Regions from separate parts of the Homo sapiens genome. Here all the other regions are linked to region 3. Evidence: promoter capture Hi-C in 16 types of primary human blood cells and fetal thymus (Javierre and others, 2016). All regions are on one chromosome and are shown on one strand. The core of a region is centred on a gene start or on the middle of the fragment in contact, and the rest is flanking DNA. Distances in the headings are between cores, read along the strand shown. Region 1 has its middle 130 kb from the start of PGBD5. Region 2 holds the start of MRPL55 (mitochondrial ribosomal protein L55). Region 3 holds the start of RAB4A (RAB4A, member RAS oncogene family). Region 4 has its middle 110 kb from the start of PGBD5.

Region 1 (4,309 bases), core at 932-3,431, 1.0 Mb before region 3:
GGATGTATGTTATATATATGGTTACCCATTGCACATGTGCTCAACTCCCCTCATAAACATGCATAGCGTCTCCCCCAAACCTGCTGAATATGTATTGTTTTTTGGGGTAATGCAGACCTCGTTAGGCATAAAACCCAGCCTCTCCGTTCCCCTCTGAAGAGCGCACCTTCAGTCCACACTGGAGATGATCTCTTCCCAGTTTGCAAGCTGATGCTACCAATATAGCTCTCCTTCCTACTAGTGAGCCATTCTGATGGCCTTTTGGATAACAGACCTTAATATCTTTGGTCAGGCCATTATTCAGCCTACCAGAGTCCTCCCTTGGGTCTCCAAAGATTCATGTCTGTTCCACATGCAAAATATATTTACCCCATTTCAATGTTCCCAAAAGTCTCAATCCACTACAATCAACTCATGTCCAAAATCTCATCTAAATCTCATTAACTCAGAAATTCCAAATCACAGCATCTGATTAAGATATGGGTTAGACTCTGGATCTGATTCATCCTGGAAAAAAATTCCTTCCTATCTCTGGACCTGTGAAACTAGAAAATCAATTTATTCCAAAAGCAATGTGGTATAACAGGTGTGGTATAACAGCGAAACAATGATAGACTCTCCCATTCCAAAAGGGAACAGTGAAAGGAAGAAAGGAGTCATGAGTCTCACGCAATGAAGGACTCCAGCAGGGCAGGAGTTCCATTAGGGCACGTTCCATTAGGGCTCGGGGCTGGTGATAACCGTCTATGGCTTGGGCTCCACCCAATGGGCTCATGGCTCTATATGAGAGATTGGGACCTAACATCTTTGCGTGGCAATTATTCAGTCTACTATAAATATAGGTTGGTGCAAAAGTTATTAAACATAATGGCAAAAACCCCAATAACTTTTGCACCAACCTAATACTATCCAAGTGTCAGTTGATATTATTGTATCAACTGTATCAAAGTGTATCTATTTGTTTGCTTATTTTTGTAGAGATGAGGTCTTGTGTTGCCCAAGCTGGTCTTGAACTCCTGGCCTCAAGTGATCCTCTTGCCTTGGCCTCCTGAGTCGCTGGGAGGACAGGCATGAGCCACCGCGCCCAGCCTCAGAATGTATTTTTTTTACTAAAAGTATAACACTTTCAGCACAGTTGTATCTTAGCAATCCCCAAGACAAGTCTGACTGATGGGCATTGCTCAGGCCATCTGGCCCTTATGGAACTAAACTTTCTGGCCCCTTCTTTCTTTCTGGCCTGCAGGTCAGCTCCGGCTGATGCCTGGTGTGGGTGGGATTATGAACAGAGGCAGAACTGATTTGAACTGGACCCACCATCTCTGGGCAGCCCTCCACAAGCCATTTCATTCCTTGAGCACATTGTACCCTTTCCAGTCTCTCTCTAGGGCCCCTCTCCCCGAATGCTTGGGAGCAGGATAAGGGATTGAAGGCTCCTGTCCTGAAGCTGTTTACCTGTTTGCTCACAGCACCTGCCAGGCCACCGAGTCTGAGCAATTCTATGGTCATCCTGCCCTCTCCAAAGAGCAGGCTTTCCCATGGGGAGACACTACAGATTCTCACATGAATGACGTCCCTGTCTGCTGCCTCTTGCGTGCTCCTTGCCATAAAGTCTTTCCACAAACGATGGTTGGAAAGACCTAGACTTTGAAGAGGCCAGCATAGTCCCTGCAGAAGGAGGAGAGAGGCAGGTTGACACAGGCCTCCTGGTATGAAAGTTCCTGGGATCTGTCTCCTTCCACAATGACAGCACCACAGCAAATCCAGCATCCTCAGGCCGAGAGGGTGATGGGGCTGGCGTCCATTCTCGGGCTTAGCTTCTCCTTTCTCTCCAGCTGCGTTCAGCTGCTCACTGATGCCCATCTGCTGGTTCCCCCTGTTCACTGACTCCTCTGCCTCAAATCCCACGTCCTGGGTGCTCAGAGCCTCCCAGGCTGAATGCCAGTGTGTCCCAGCCTGGATGCCAGCGTGCACGTGGTTTAATCCTGAGGGCAGTGAACATCTGTGTGTTTTCCTAACAGGAGGATGCCTTCATACAAAGCTCTCAGGGAAAAGCATTGACAAGCTTATTGGAGGGGGCTCTTCATCTCCAGGATGGCAGTGTGACCCACCCGAAGAGTCCAGCCAGGCATCGGGAGCACAGGTGCCTTCCACTAGAGCATGCTGCCTGATCCACACACGGACACGGGTGCATCTGGCTCTCTGGGTCTCTGCCTTCTCTTGCTGCCTGTGAGGCCATCATCTGATTCTCAGGGCAGTGCAGGGTTAGTTAGTAGTGGATGAGTCAAGTTAATGAAGCTTAATAATCAGGTTAATGAACTGTGGCTCTCCCCTCTGGGAGACACATATTGTAGCAGCAGCCGCCACAGGACAAGTGATTTTAATAACACCACAGGTGGCGTGCTAGCAGGACAGGTGTGGACACGCTGAGAGAGGCTTTTCAAAATCTCTCCATTTCATTGCCCAGGCAACAGCTCTTGGAAAGGCCGCTGACATGCAGGCTGTGTCCATGAGCTTTCCCATCCGCTCCTTGCTCTAAGGGTGTCTCCCATGGACACGTCAGAGAGGCCCTCCCTAGAATAATGCACCCCTGAGACGGCCTCACGATTTGGATTTGCTGCCTCTGGGACTAACTTGGCTAAAATTAAAACAAAAACAAAAACAAACAAAGAAAAAATGTGTTTGGGGAGAAAACATCTGAATTTTTAGAGCAAGAGAAGGAGAGAGAGGAAGGGAAAGAGAGAGGCAGGTTGAGAGAGAGAGGGAGGGAGGGAGAAAGAGAGAGAGGGAGAGGGAAAGAGAGAGGGAGCAGGAAAGAGAGGTTGAGAGAGAGAGAGGAGGGAAAGAGAGAGGCAGGTTGAGAGAGAGAGAGGAGGGAAAGAGAGAGGCAGGTTGAGAGAGAGAGGGAGGGAGAAGGAAAGAGAGAGAGGTGGAGAGGGCAAGAGCCTGCGAGAGGCAATTAATGACAGTCAGTCAGGTATGTGAGACCCAAGCTGCCAGCCTGAGCTTCTCTTCTCCCAGAACGGCCATTATGAAAAGGGGCTTTTGACAGACAAGAGCGCCCATCACTCTGGCAGCTGTGCCCCGGCCCCCTCTCCGACCTCGCCTCGCCGGGATGCGGTGTCCTTCTCAGGAGCCCTGCTATCCCTGGCAGCAGGAAGAGGACATGGTGGACATTTCCTGATTCTATTCACCTGACGTGGCTAGAGCCCCAAGAACCTATTTCCTCCCTTTCCTCACCTGCTTGGAGCATCCAAGGGCACAGGAATAGGGGACCTGAGGTCACGCTGTCATTCGAATCCAAGGGAGAGTGTGAGGAGCCGGGCGGCAGAGCAGCACCCCAGGGTGAGGGGCAGAGAACAGCCACCGTAGAGGAGGACCTGCCACTCCCCGCTTCACCACTTGCCCCCTCACCGGTCCCCCATTCACGGCTCCCCGCCTCACCGCTCCCCACCTCACCGCTCCCTCCTTCACCGCTCCCCACCTCACCGCTCCCCCCACACCGCTTCCCTCCCTCACCGCTCCCCCCTCCCCCTCACCGTCACTGCTCCCCACTTCACCACTCCCCACTTCACCGCTCCCCCCAGGGAGCTGGCCCTATACCCAGCCGCTTCCTTAAAGAGTTAGCACAAACAAAGCAATTAAGTGTCTGAAATTCTTCAAAAGGAAGAACTTGTACTAAGATGATTTCTTCCTTTTTTTACACACAGGGTCTCACTCTTTCACTTAGGCTGGAGTGCAGTGGCACAGTCACAGCTCACTGCAGCCTCCAACTCCTAGGCTCAAGCGATCCTCCCACCTCAGCCACCCAAGTAGCTGGGACCACAGGTGCACACCACCACACCTGGCTAATTTTTTAATTTTTTGTAGCAACAGGGTCTCACTATGTTGTCAAGGCTGGTCTCCAACTCCTGGGCTCAAGTCATCTTCCCGCCTCAGCCTCCCAAAGTGCTGGGATTATAGATGTGAGCTACTGCCCCAGGCCTAAAATGATTCCTTAAACACACTTCTTAGTTCTATTTCCTGGCCTTTCAGGTGAGGTGGAAAAGGGTGGCCCAGACTATCATTTTATTCATCACCCAAATCTTTCATCCAGGAGAAGAAGAACAGAGAGGTTAGAGGGCTGTGTTTAGGTGGGTTACATGCAGACCTGTTTCTAAAGTGCAGAGAGGGAGCTGGCAGCCTCAGCCCCAAGCTCAGCATCCATGAGGGATTCTACTTTCTGGGTAACTGTGCAGATCAAGGCCTGATTCTTCACCTCCATGAGCTCTCACTGTCTGCATTTGAATACTCTCTGCAACCCTTATTCATT
Region 2 (4,593 bases), core at 2,043-4,542, 1.2 Mb after region 3:
TCTCTCAAAATTGAGAAAATGACCAAAAGAGGGTAGTTGCTGAAGCAAACTAAATATGGCCTGAGAAGGACTTCATATTTTTATATTTGAGTCCTTGTGGATGAACTGCAACCTAGCTTAATAGGTAGATAGATTGAAAACCTAACAGGAGTATGCAACTGTAACAATAGCTGCGTCTTGGCCAATCCCAGAGGCTGCACTTCAACTATTCATATACTGCTGAGCGTTCAAACTGTGTTCAAATACGGCAAACACCAACCTGAAACCAATCCAGCTGTTTTGTACTTTACTTTCAATTTCTGTACATCATTTACCTTTTTTTGTCTACGAATCTTCCACCACGTGGCTGTGCTGGAGTCTCTGTGAATCTGCTGTGATTCTGGGGGCTGCGTGATTCGTGAATCATTCATTGCTCAATTAAACTTTAAATTTAATTCGGCTGAAGTTTTTATCAAGTGTAAACCAAAAATAAAAAATAAATTTATAAGGCTCCCCAGCCATCTAAATGGACTTCCTCCTCGGCCAGGGAACTCTTAAAAAAAATTTTTTTTTTTTGACGGAGTCTTGCTCTGTCACCCAGGCTGGAGTGCAGTGGTGCGATCTCTGCTCACTGCAACCTCTGCCTCCCAGGTTCAAGTGATTCTCCTGCCTCAGCCTCCTGAGTAGCTGGGATTACAGGTGCGCACCACCATGCCTGGCTAATTTTTGTATATTTTTTAGTGGAGACCGGGTTTCACCATGTTGGCCAGGCTGGTCTCGAACTCCTGACCTGAAGTGATTCGCCCACCTCTGCCTCCCAAAGTGTTGGGATTACAGGTGTCAGCCACTGTGCCTGGCCTGGAACTCTTAAAATTTAACCTCAAAGACTGGTTCAGGCCATAAGAAGTGGGGGTCAGACATGCCTCATTATACCTCTCTGGCATTAACATCAACATAGACTTTAAGTCCGATAAACATTTTACAACCTATTCTCTCTGAAGCCTAATACCTGAAGGCTTCATCTGCAAATAAGAACTTTGGTCTCCACAATCATATATATATATATTTTTTTTTCTTTCCTTTTTTTTTTTTTTTAGATGGAGTCTCACTCTATTGCCTAAGCTGGAGTGCAGTGGCGCAATCTCGGCTCACTTCAACCTCCGCCTCCTGGGCTGAAGTGATTCTTCTGCCTCAGCCTCCTGAGTAACTGGGATTACAGGCACACACCACCACGCCCAGCTAATTTTTGTATTTTTAGTAGAGAGGAGGTTTCACCATGTTGGTCAGGCTGGTCTCGAACTCCTGACCTCGTGATCCGCCTGCCTTAGCCTCCCAAAGTGCTGGGATTACAGGTGTGAGCCACTGCACCCCACCCACAATCTTTTATCTTAACCCAGACATTCCTTTCTGTTAATCCCAGGTCTTCAGGTAAATTCAACCAATTGTCAAACAGAAAATTTTTCAATCTACCTATAAGCTGGAAGCCAGCACCCTTGACCCCTGCTTCGAGTTGTCCTGCCTTTCTGAACCAAACCAATGTAGGTTTTAAATGTATTTGATTGATGTCTCATGCCTCCCTAAAATGTATAAAACCAAGCTGCACCCCAACCACCTTGGGAACATGTTCTCAGGACCTCTGTCCTGAGGGCTGTGTCACAGGCCATGGTTACTCATATTTGGCTCAGAATATATCTCTTAAAATATTTTACAAAGTTTGACTCTTTTCATCAACAGCAGCAAGCCACCAGCATTCCCAGTGAGGGAAGGGTAAAGGGAACTTTTTATCAGTGAAAAGGGAACTTTTATCAGCGAAAAGGGAGCGGTTCACAGAAGCTGCTTAGAAAGAGTTCATTGGTTCCAGGGGCCCAACGCCAAAGCTCAAAGTTGTCCTCAGTTCATTGGTGGCGCTGCCATTACTGGGCAAGTGTTTATTCCGAGCATCTTAACTGAATTACTGCAGTCCTAAAGATGGTCTAAATTTTGTCAAAGTAGGAGACCCGTGAATGACACAAAAGGGTTTCTTGTGGGGTTTTTAGAAAGTCCTTGCGAATAATTCTTATCTCAGACACTAAGCCTGAGCCTCCTGTTCTTCCCAGCCCTGTTTGTCTGGGCCTGACAAAGTGATTTCACTCCTTATTTGTAACTTTCACAAAACAAAGGCCCTGGTCTCATGAACTCATTGCACAAAGTGACCCTGGTTCGCTGAGGCAGATAGGCGATGCTATCTGCCTGCCCTGGTCCAAACATCTCATCTGGAATACTGCAGGCCAGTGGAAATGCCCGGAATAAGCTCTGTTTACAAGGTAATAGCGAGCCTCTCTGGCATTTCAGAAATGCGTGACAGCTGCTTCCTTAGGGCCCTCCCCACTCCATTTTGGTTACGTTGTGACATAAATTACTCCATTTTGCTGTGAACTACAGGGTCATTTCTCAGCCCCCGCCAACCCCGCGGATCCCCCCTCAGCCCCGCTGTATCAGCCTTTCGGATCCTCCTTCAGCCTCTCAGGTCCTCCTCAGCCCGCTGCGTGCCTCTTCAGCCCCCCTTGAACTTCCGTCATCCCCACAGATCCTCCCTCAGCCTCCCTAGATTCCCACCTCAGCGCCCATGGATCCTCCCTCACTGCCCCCTGGGACCTCCCTCAGTTCTGCAGATTCCCCCCTTAGCCTCCTGGGACCTCTCTCACCCCTTCTAGATCCTCTCTCAGCCCCGCAGATCCTTCCGCAGCTCCCCCTGGATCCTCCCTCAGCCCAGCTGGTGCCCACTCAGCCCCGCGGATCCTCCTTCCCTCAGCCCCCGCCCGGGTGCTCCCGCAGTCCCCCTGGGTCCTCCCTCAGCCCAGCTGATGCCCCTTCAGCTCCGAGGATCCTCCCTCAGCCCCCCTGCGTCTTCCCTCAGCCCCCTGCGTCCTCCCTCAGGACCCCTGGGTCCTCCCTCAGCCCTCCGGGACCTCTATCAGCTCTCCTGGATCCTCCCTCAGCCCTGCGGATCCTCCCTCAGCTCCCCACCCCGGGTCCTCCCTCAGCACTCCCCCACTCCGTCCTCCCTCAGACCCGCGGGTCCCCCTCGACCTCGCCGGCCCGCCCTGGTCCTCCCGGTAGGGACGGAGGTCACCTGCTCGCCGGCCCCGCCTGGGTTCTTGTACCGCCACAGCGCCCCCGCAGGCCCCGCCCACCTAGGCTTCGTCCCGCCCCCGAGATTACATCACGCCGCGCCGGCCCCGCCCAACAGGGGCGTATATCTTCGTGTCTCACCGCCCACTCTTGCCTCTCCCTGCCATGGAACACGTCATACCGCGCGACGCAGCGCCTGCCAGTGACGTCGTGGGCTGCAGCGCAGCAGCACCCAACGCAGTGAGTACCTTGATCTCCTGCGTGGCCTCGTCCCTGGTCTTAGTTCCACCGGGCAGCGGGAGTCAGGACCGCCTGTCCTCAGACCCCTCCGCAGCGACTGTGGCGGCCGCAGGTTGGCGCCTCGTGTGGGCCGGGAACAGAGGCGGGAGGCGCTGTACCCTCCCGGTGGAGTCGGGAGGGAGGGAGGCAGGGAAGGGGACAGGGGGCTGCACCTGTGATAAGCCCTTGTCCCCATGCAGTCTAGCAGGAAAGGAGAGGGAGCTTTCCCCGAAGACCCTCCTGGACCAGCCCCAGGCTCCTGTGCTGGTGAGGCCGAGGGAGAGGGATGTGGGCATAGGACACGTAGCAGGATTTCCATTTTAGAGGCAGCCGGACCTGTCTTCAGGTCCCTTCCTTGGTGAGAGACAGGGGTACGCCAGAGGAAGCTGGGCGCTCGGCCTCTGTGCAGCCTCATCTCCTGGAATCTGAGTATTGAAAACTGGGCTTTTACTTCGCACACCTCAGCACAGACTCCCATGGGAATCCAGGTCACAGCAAAGCAGCCCTGGGCCTCCATTCTCCTTTAAGCAAGCATGACAATCCTCACTTCACTGAGTTTTTATTAAAACTAGCAATGACCTTAGAAAGCAAGGCATGACCTCAGCTCCACTTTTGAGGCTGCAGTCCATTCAGAGAGGTTTCGCAGACTCGGTAACGGCCAGAACAGACAGCCTGGGCCCTGCCGCAGGCTGACTCAGAATCTTTGGGAGTAGTGACCAACTTCTGCTTTTGGAAAAACCTCTACAGGCGGTTCTGAGAAGTCCAAGGGTTGCTGGGAGAGGTTGGTGAGTGGCGTGGTGATTACATGTGTCTTGGAAGCATCCTGGGCTGGGATTTGATAAGAAACCATTAGGTGGAAGAACCTTCCTTTTAAAAAAGATCTCTTCATTCTCTGCCTAGCAGGTTGCACGCCAGGGCCTGTACTGACCACCTCCACGTGCCACTGGGGCTGTAAGGAGGAATGGCGGCCGTGGGCAGCCTGCTTGGGTAAGCATGGACTTTTAGGTCCCTGGGGATTACTGTCAGGGGCCACCCCAGGGAACCCCTCTCTTCAGCAGGAAACCGCCATTCTAATCCTCCCTAGTCCTTGCTATTGTCCACTGTCCCCTGTGCTGGAAGCTTTGTGCCCTTGCTCAGCCTGGCAGCCTCTTCCTGGCTAGGGGGCCAGAACGCCTCTGACCACAGCCTGTGGCTCCTGAGGAAGCCCCGAGGCTCATCCTGCCC
Region 3 (4,710 bases), core at 547-3,046:
CGACTTACTGGAGGATTTCCTACGCCTTCTAGGAACAGATGTCATGCCCCTTTGTCACCAAGAACAGGGCAGTACCAGTCACAGGAGTCACTCACTGAAGGTGGACCAAATGCACTGTGACCCCAGCATGGAAGCCCTTCCAAAAGTTCCCATTTTTTCTTACAAGACAAACTGACGCCTTCCTCAAGACCCTCTCCTCTCTGCCTCCTCATCCACCTCTCCAGCGTGGTACTCAAAACACACCCTTCTTGAGTTACCCTTCCCACAGGCCTGAGATGTTCTGCGTGCTGCCTGGTTAATGCCTCCCTGACACCCCTGTCTGGGTCATCTTTCTTTCTAACACACTTTCACGGACCACACTCCTTCAGAACTCTTGCCTGGTTTTTAATTATTCACTCATTAGTATCACAATTGGATTAATACTGCATTCCCTCAATAGACTACGCTCCATGAGACCAGAGCCGTGTCTGCTGTGTTTCTGCAGGATGTACAGCCCTCCCAGCACGGTGCTCGCTTCCCTAATGCCATTCCACAGTATTTGTTGCAGAGAAGGAAGCAGCATGCCAGGACAGATGGAGACAGGACTAATTTGGCTTGAGGTATGTAATTTTGAACTTGAGCCTCTCTCTGGGACTGTAAAACTCCAAATCAAAGTCTTAATCTGAGAATACATACATCTGAAAGAGTGATTAGGGACTGGTAAACATCTATTAATATTCAACTCTGATACAAAGTACAAGTTGTTTATTCTTACCACGCAAGGCCAAAAAAGGGGAGAAAAAAAAAAAAGCACACAGCATATGCACTGGGAAAGCTTTCGCTTATTCAAAACAGTATTTGTCAAGCACCTCCAGGTCTGGGTGCTGCAGGGGAAACAAAGATTAAACAGCCAGGGCTTTGCTTCCAAGGTGCTTACGGTCTTAAGAAGGAGACAAGACATGTTTATAAATAGCCAAAATGCAACCCAGAAAAGGCTAAAAAACACTGAGAGGGAGGGAGAAATAAACGAAGCAAGAGGTCTCCGGAGGAAGAGATGAATGAATTAGCCTATTAATAACTCCTCACTGTAATCCCAATGTAAAGCAAGGAATTCCAAACCAGGAAAGGTCAAACTGAAGTATTTGAGGAACACAGGCGTCGCCCTAAGCCCTTCACAGGCTCGCTGGGGATAATATCGCAGCTGAAACCGAACATCAAGCTGGCTTTTCAAACCTTCAGTTATTTACATTAGACTGAGAGGGGAAAAGCGCTAAGAGTGCAAGAGCAGAGAAAGAGCAAGAGGAAACTTGAAAAGGCGGATCACGCCAATGCGCTGTGCACAGCGCCCCCGCGCCCCGCGCACCCGCTACCCCACCCGAGCCCCCAGCGGCCCGCGTCCCCCATCCCGGTCCCAAGCCCAGACACCTCCGAGATCCGTCCCCCGGCTCCGGCCGGCGCCACCGCCACCCTCAAGACCCCCGCAGCCCAGGCCCGGCCCCGCGCCACCGACGCCCCCCGCGGCCCGACCCGCGCGCCCCGCCAGCCCGGGCCTCGTACCGTAGGTTTCGGACATGGCCGTCTGCGACATCTTGGGAGCGGCGCCGCCTCTCGCCGGGTCACCGGCTGCACTCGCCCGCGGTCCGCCGGCGCGTCTCGGTGGGGAAGGACCTGGGGCGGGGGACCGGAGGAGGGAGGGGCCCGACCGGTCCCCACGGCAACCGCCGGTCTCCCAGCGGCTGCGGCCCAGCCGGACTCCAGCTCCGCGCAGGCGCAGGGCCCTCCACCCTCCGTCCGGCCGCGACCGCGAGGAGGAAGAGGAGATGGGCTACGCGAGGCCCGGCCCACCCCGCGTTCGCGCGTGCGCACGGGGAGGCCGGGGCGGGGCGCGTGAGGACTTCGGCGCGCGCCGGAAGCACGTGCGCGGGCTGGGCGCTCTGGCGGTGTGCGCTGAGGTGGGCAGAGCGGCAGGTGGGGGCGTTGGGGGCTGAGTCCCGATTTCCCTGAGGGAGGGTCGGGTAGAGGCGGGCGGTGGGCAGGTTTGGGGGTGACAGAGGGCTGGGGACAGTGGGGTCCAGTTGCCGGACAGAGGAGGAAGGTGCCCGCACTGGGGAGGAAAGCAGTCCATTTGCCAAATTGGCCCGTCTCAGTTAAGACGTTGTCTTCGGTCATCATCTGCGGCTGTCAGCCAGGAAAAAACTTCCCTGACGCTGTTACGATGGAGGCCAGAACTTGGTTAATGTGTAACAAGGAGGCAGTAGGCCCCAGGTGTCCAGCCAGAGGCCGCCCTGTGAATGGGAGGCAGGTTCATTTACCCGTTGGGAAGCTAAGCTTTCACTCCAAACTGCCGGGCCCTCTTGGATGGAGCTGAGCGGGTGTGGGCGGAATGACAGAAGCGCAAGATGCCCAGGTGCTAAAAGGTCATCGCAAGACTACAGGCTGCAGCCTCTCCACATCCCATTTTAGAGGGTTCTGGATTACGGTTGAGAAGTATCTCCCGGCCCTCAGCTGGGGATGTGTTTCCAAATTTAGGAGTTTTTTTAATTTTTATTTTTTAACAGGGTCTGGCACTGTCAGCCCAGCCCAACCGATTCTCCTGCCTCAGCCTCCTGAGTAGCTGGGGCTAGGGGCTCACACGACCACACCGCGCCAATTTTTAAATTTTTTGTAGAGATGGGGTCTTGTTATGTTGCCCAGGCTGGTCTTGAACTCCTGAGTTCAAGCATCCTCCCTCCTTGGCCTCCCAAATTGCTGGGATTACAGGCATGAGTCATCTCACCTGGCCTTGGATAGTTTGGTTTCAGAAGCAAAACTGAGTTAGAATCCCCTTCTGTGGGAAATGTAGAGATAAACATTTATGGGAAAGAGAATTTTGGTTGAGGATTTGGCCCATCTGAGCTTGATCAGGGCCACATAGCGCCTCATAGTTCCCAACCTTGTTCACAATAGGTAGTCGAATGCTCAAAATATCCTTGGCTAAGCTCCCAAGTGACCTGGACTGTGTGGAAAATGCCAGTACATACTTTTGTGTGTGTGTGTGTGAGTCAGTTTGGCTCCATCCTCCACATAAATTGGCATCAGAGCTTCCCTCTTCCCCAGTGGCTATTTGGGTCGGTATTTTTCTCTTGTCTCCGATCCTAATAACAAATAAATGCAGTTTTTTCTAAATCACAGAGAAGGCCCCATGGTGAAAAGTTGTGACAGCTGTAATTCCTAAAACTGTTTTATATATATTTCTTGTTCAGTGGCTCAGATCATTTGTTGCTTTCTTGTTTGTCTCTCTGCATGTCGTGTTTGATTTAGGCTCCTGAGTATAACAGATTGGTTCTGATTAAAACCATTTCAGAGGAAAGACAGTGATCCCAGGAAGCGGGAAGAAAACAGCATCACCTGAAGTTATTCCTATTCGTTAGATTTGTTTTCTTCCTGCGAAAAACTGCTATGTACAAGAAAGAAGTCAGTGAGCTGCAGTGATAGTTAGCATTATTGACTGAAACTGGACCAGAGATCCCTGAAACCTGGACAAGGTGGTAGAAATACAAATTATGCTGCCATTTCAAAGCTGTGGGCAGTTTTCTACTTTGTGGAAAATGAAGACTTAGGTAGGCCTTTGGGAAAGACGATTTGTTTTGGAAAAACCACCCAAAGGGATCATTTGGTTTGCAAATGTAACTGCAGTATCACAACTGGAAGAAGAAATATACAAGGGCGAGGTTTGAAGGAGCCCTTCAGTATCCTTGGATGATACTGTGGAAGATTCTTTGCATCTCAGTAACTTTGGATCTTTGAAGATCCAAGAAAATAAATTTCTTCAAAATATTTTTAGAGACTGCTTTGATTCTGAGGCACTGCTGATTATATGGAAGAAAAAAATATTGGAAGATTAATTTGTGGTTTTCTCCAGTTATCGTCTCCCTTCTCTTTGGGGGAGGTTTGTGACGCAGTAAAAACAGATATACAAAAGCCTAGGCATGTTAGAGATTTGCCTAAGGGAAATGTAATTATGAAGAAGGATTTTTTCAAGCTGAAACTAGATCCCACTTTTTTCCAGGTCAGTGGGTCCTTCAAGTATCTGGTACTTTCCTTCCTGCTTCCTGACAATGTTAAAGAATGTGGCATGACCTTACATTTAATGCCCAACGTGAGGAGCCCTGGGGCTTGATGCATGAGATTCTTGGAGCTAGGCCTGGTGGAGGGCACTGGTCACAGCCTCGGTGGAATGGTGACTTTCTTTGGTAACTGGAATTGAAGAAAATGAGTGGACTTGTGTCTGAGCACTTGGGAACTCAGCAATCCCTGGGTGTTACCTTGAGAAGGAGCCAAATTCCAGACATACAAGTGGAGACTTGAAAATGGAAGCTCAATTCCACACCCAGGCTGGTGGAGACTATGACATATAACTCACATCTTCAAGAAAGTAGACACCTCAGAGGTCACTGGGCCACTTTACCTTCCACTGTCAAAACTATGTCCATGATCAGATACCTCTGTTGCTAGGGAATATTCAGTCAGAATGGGCTAGATTAACTGCAGTAATGCAGATCTCTCAACCCATTTATGACTTACGCAGCAAAGTTCCTCGCTCAGACTACCTGTCCACTCCCACGAGCAGAGACTTGCTCATGGGCCCTCCTAGACCCAGGCTGACCGAGTGTGTTTTATCTAAATGCATCTCCACAATCACTCAGGTAGGAGTGGCTATGCATTAGGACTGATTGTGCATTAGTTAGAGAA
Region 4 (4,810 bases), core at 1,514-4,013, 1.0 Mb before region 3:
CTGGGAAAAGTCAAGGGGATCCCCAAAGCGGTCTTCCTCGTCTCCCCTTCCATCTTCCCTCCACCGTCAGACTGGATTCTGCAGCCTGTAGCTGCAGCCTGTATTGGCTGCTGTTATTACCACAGCCCTAAGGGCCTCCACCATTCTCCTCGCACTCCTCAAAAGGTTCCAGAATCTGGGGTGAGCGCTCTTGTCAGAAGCTGGAACAGGAGGAAGCAATGTTCAAGAGCACTGGTGTGTGCAGAATGCCAAGGACCCCAGGAGAGCTGCAACTGCCCGCTCGTGACTGTGGACGATCACCATGTCCCCAGCTCTGCCAGCAAATACCACCCAGTCAGATGCTTTCATGATTGCAGTTCAAAACGAAAACAAAAAGGGCACGATATTGGCTTTAGCAGCGTTATCCTGACAGTCACAATGTGGACATTGTTTTTCTTACCGTAGAAAATCTCTGTATAAAATGAGATGACGGATCCCACTTTCCAAGGTTGTTTTTTTTTTTAATCACAAATGATTTTGAGGGCTGAGCACAGTGGCTCACAGCTGCAATCCCAGCAGTTTAGGAGGCCAAGGCAGGAGGACCGCTTGAGGCCAGGAGCTTGAGACCAGCCTGGGCAACATAGTGAGACCCCATATCTACAAAACAGAGAAGATTTTGAGAAGCTTGTGCTTCTCCATCTAACATAGGAATTCAAGTGTTTTTACAGCACATTATAACAAACATGCCTTGTTTTTCTACAAGCCAAAAATAATTTTCAAACACTCTTAAAATGTTAACGATTTCAAATCTTTGCAGACCCTTTAGTAAGCACTAAATTTACCTTTACTTTTGTTGTGTTTATCCCTGATGTAATGATTTATTTTATAAAATCAGAGCCTTCCCTTTACCACTATCTTTTATATGATTTCCCCTCATTTTCTTTTCCACATTTCATGGCCTCTGACTCTGTCCTTTACAAATATCTATTCCTTCTCTTTCTCCCTCCCTCCTCTTCCTCCCTCTCTTCTTCCCTTCTCCTCTTCCCCTCCCCCACATTCCTTTGCTGAGCACAGATAATCCATGTCCCCAGATGTCCCCCTCTGGATGCCCGTCCCCTAGCCCATCACCTGGCATACAGGTTCTCCAGCCTCAGGGTTCCCACGGTGCACAGGGACCTTCCCCTCTCAACGGTAGTAGGGTGAGGACATAACCTTTTGTATCCAAGACATTTTGAGGGTAGAGACATCCATAACGAGGAAAAACTCCAACAAGGAGGATTCAAAAGACCGTTTATAGATGAATAGGATAATGGGATTTAGTTTACTGATCCCAGGGCCCAGCCTTCCCTGCCACATTGACTGAATGCTGATCACATCTCCCAGTGGTGCTGGGGCGCAGTAGCTCATGCCTATAATCCCAGCACTTTGGGAAGCCAAGGCAAGAGGATCACATGGGGCCAGGAGTTCCAAACCAACCTGGGAAACATAGTGAGACCCTGTCTCTGAGAAATAGAATTTAAAAATTTAGCTGGGCTGGGTGCTGTGGCTCACACCTGTAATCCCAGCACTTTGGGAGTCTGAGGTGGGTGGATTGCTTGAGGTCAGGAGTTCAAGACCAACGTGGCCAACATGGCAAAACCCTGTCTCTACTAAAAATACAAAAATTAGCTGGGCTTGGTGGCACACGCCTGTAATCCCAGCTACTAGGGAGGCTGAGGCAGGAGAATCACTTGCAGCCGGGACGTAAAGGTTGCAGTGAGCCGAGATAGCGCCATTGCACTCCAGCCTGGGTGACAGAGCAAGACTTCGTCTCCAAAAAAAAAAAAAAAAAAAAAATTAGCTGGGCATGGTGGCATGCACCTGCAGCCTGCAGTCCCAGTTACTTGGGAGGCTGAGGCAGAGGATCGCTCAAGCCCAGAAATTCAAGGCTGCAGTGAGCACTGATTGCACCACTGCACTTCAGCTTGGGCTGAAGGATCACTTTAGCCCAGGATCACTTTAGCCCAAACAAGACGCTGTTTGTTTGAAACAATAACAACAACAACAAAAACAAACAAACAAAAAAACAGAACCATCTCCCAGGGCTGTGGGCCTTTGGGGACATGCACAGGAATACACACAAAAAAAGACAAACATGTTCTAGTTTGAGCAGAAGAATAGTACAGGGCAAGTGGACTAAGTCATTCATTCAAAACACTTTAATTGAGCTCTTCCAAATCAGTAGGCACTATGCTAAACACTAAGGGTATAAGCAAGGACAGTCTTTGCCATCAAGGGCTGTCAAATAGTGGGAGAGACACAAACGCAATATCTCATGTGGCCAGAGTGATAATAGTATGTAAAAATTAATCAAGGAATGAAGCCCGTATTTTCCCAACCACAAATGGGGATACATGAATCATGTTCTGTCTCTGGGGCAGAATATTTTAAAAGTAATTGCTATGGGAGACTGACATGGCCAGAGAGAGGTCAGGTGTGGATGTTATTCTACAGAATGAGTAGACTCGTTTTTTGGAACAAACCCACGTGACACTAGCTGATTTAGAGCCAAAAAGCTCAGGGATTTGTCACTGGGAGGATCTTGGGCCAATAGACATGAGTCTGAAAATTCTGCCCAGGTTAAACCACCCTGACAGTACCAGGCAAGAGAATGTGAAGTCTATACACATTAAAAATTTCTGGTTCCAATTCCTGGGGAGGCTGGAGCAAGAGGATCACTTTAGCCCAGGTAGTCGAGGCTGCAGTGAGCTATGGTCACGCCACTGCACTCCAGCCTAGATAAGACACAGTGAGACCCTGCCTCTAAAACTTAAAAATTAAAAAAGAAACCTGCCTAAAGGAACAGTAACCAGTCTGGAGGGAGGAGGCTCTCGATCCCGAAGAAGCCAAAGGTAACTGGACACGAGATTTTTCTGTGCCAAGCATTTCCCAGTTAGGCTGTGGCTGATTCACCCTCTCTGTCCCCCTCTCACACTCTCCTCAGTCCCAGGAACTAGAAAAAGATGGAGAGCTGTCCTTCCCTGAGTCGCCCCAACCCTTAGCAGCAGTCTGACCTTATGCGGCCTGAGTGAGGCCCAATGCTGGTAGCGGCTCTGTTCACACTCACCCTCCAGCAAAGCAAACGTCGAGAGACCAGGAGAGGGGAGTCCAACCCCAAAAAGGAGAGCCAGTGCCTGCGAGAATAAGTGTGTTCATGGAGTTAACAGGATGGAATACTTCAAAATCCAGGATGCCCTGAAACTATATGTACATCTATTAGATATCAATTAAAAATTATCTTAATTAAAAAAAATAAAAATAAAAATCCAGGATTGTTGTCCTGGCATGGATGGAATGAAGAAGGGCCTAGGAGAGTGGGAAGGTGTAGGCAGATTTGTCTGATTTTAACAGAGTTAAAACGAAAAATATGTAATTAACAACCTGCTCCCAAACCAAATTTTCACCCTCCCCCTTTTCGGACTGTCCACCTTCTTTGAGATGAAGCCTTTCCCATGGCTGCCCAGCAGAGGGCAGCAGAGGACACCTTATGAGCCTCCGTCCCCTGCACACAATAGCGCATTCGTTCAACAAATGCCTTCGGAGTTTGGAGTGGACAGTGTTCCAGGCACTGTGGACACTGCCCTAAATAAGACAGACGAGGTCTCTGCTGGTCCAGAGCAAGGGGAGAGAACAATAAGCAAAGTCATGGAGACTATAGCACCGTAAAGTGATGGGGACAGGAATGGAAAAGGGGCTTGCTGATTCCACATTTCGGCTTCCAGCCAGTGTTTACCAGTACTTGTTAGGGGCCGGGCACTTCTGGGGACAGTCACCAACACAGAGGCCCCTGCCTTCATGGAGCTTACGTTCCACAGGAGGAGAGAGCACCATAAACACAAAAAGGGTCACAGAATCTTTTTTTTTTTCAAGACAGTTTCGCTCTTGTCCCCCCAGGTGGAGTGCAATGGCGCGATATCGACTTACTGCAACCTCCACCTCCCGGGTTCAAGTGATTCTCCTGCCTCAGCTTCCTGGATTCTCCTGCCTCAGCTTCCTGAGTAGCTGGGATTACAGGCACGTGCCACCACGCCTGGCTAATTTTTGTATATTTAGTAGAGACAGGGTTTCACCATGTTCACCAAGCTGGTCTCGAATTCCTGACTTCAGGTGATCCACCCGCCTTGGCCTCCCAAAGTGCTAGGATTATAGGCGTATGCCACCACACCCGGCCTCAGCAGAATCTTTTAAAGGACACCGAGTGTTACGGAAAAGGAAAACATAGAGCAGGATTTGGGGAGTGTCGGGGAGTGGGGAGCAGCAGGCTGGTGTAGCCACGCTCCCTGAGAGGCCAGATTGGAGCAAGGTCTGACAAGAGGGACTGCCAGGTGACTCCGAGGACCCACCACAGTCTGGTCCACAGCTGTTCTATGTTGGAATCACTGCGGGTGCCTGGGTTCCACCCGAGGCCTAGGTTGAGGACCTCTGGCCTAGAGCAAGGTTTCTGGGCAGCCCTGTCTCTCACCCCTTATGCCTTCCTCTCCATTTTACAAATGAGAATAGTGACGCTCAAACACGCTCACGCCTCCCTAAGTAAAGGACGGTCAGGATTTGAACCCAGAAGTATTTGAACCCAAAACTCCCATGTTTCCTCAGCATCACACCGTCTCCCAGACCACGTGACTCGTCTCTCTTTTGGAAAATATCTAGGAGCAAATGGCTCTTCCCGCCACTACACCCAACAAACATCTGGATTGTTCTGTGTCATTGGTTAACTTGCAGGGACACAGTCAAGGTGGTAAGGAGGTTGTGCCTCCTGACCCGGGACAGCTTAGCCTTCCCCTGACCCATAGGA

The links. The method cuts DNA at HindIII sites, captures the fragments that hold promoters and counts their contacts. A CHiCAGO score of 5 or more calls a contact.
Region 1: a fragment that was not itself captured here is called in contact with the fragment with the promoter of RAB4A in region 3 in 1 of 17 cell types (naive B cells); the score reaches 5.6 in naive B cells.
Region 2: a contact is called between the fragment with the promoter of MRPL55 here and the fragment with the promoter of RAB4A in region 3, in 1 of 17 cell types (monocytes). The highest score is 5.8, in monocytes.
Region 4: a contact is called between a fragment that was not itself captured here and the fragment with the promoter of RAB4A in region 3, in 1 of 17 cell types (fetal thymus). The highest score is 6.0, in fetal thymus.

The regions. Positions count from the first base shown.
Region 1 is chr1:230,291,060-230,295,368 of GRCh38, reverse strand. No RefSeq gene overlaps it. Among named protein-coding and RNA genes, the nearest start is that of PGBD5, 130 kb to the left of the region's middle. RefSeq lists an enhancer at 1-33. The HindIII fragment of the contact is 233 bases long and covers 2,065-2,297 here.
Region 2 is chr1:228,107,998-228,112,590 of GRCh38, reverse strand. It overlaps MRPL55 (mitochondrial ribosomal protein L55), which reads left to right and starts at 3,292. Exons shown (of 5, transcript NM_181463.3): 1 at 3,292-3,442; 2 at 3,570-3,636; 3 at 4,273-4,356. The coding sequence starts at 4,331. RefSeq lists a silencer at 2,847-2,936 and enhancers at 3,207-3,376, 3,645-4,358, 4,359-4,593. The HindIII fragment of the contact is 15,311 bases long and covers 1-4,490 here.
Region 3 is chr1:229,268,197-229,272,906 of GRCh38, reverse strand. RAB4A (RAB4A, member RAS oncogene family) reads right to left here and starts at 1,796. Exons shown (of 8, transcript NM_004578.4): 1 at 1,537-1,796. The coding sequence starts at 1,567. It overlaps RAB4A-AS1 (RAB4A antisense RNA 1), which reads left to right and starts at 1,753. Exons shown (of 2, transcript NR_149313.1): 1 at 1,753-1,931. RefSeq lists silencers at 1,255-1,414, 1,455-1,984. The HindIII fragment of the contact is 1,493 bases long and covers 817-2,309 here.
Region 4 is chr1:230,309,436-230,314,245 of GRCh38, reverse strand. No RefSeq gene overlaps it. Among named protein-coding and RNA genes, the nearest start is that of PGBD5, 110 kb to the left of the region's middle. The HindIII fragment of the contact is 4,195 bases long and covers 666-4,810 here.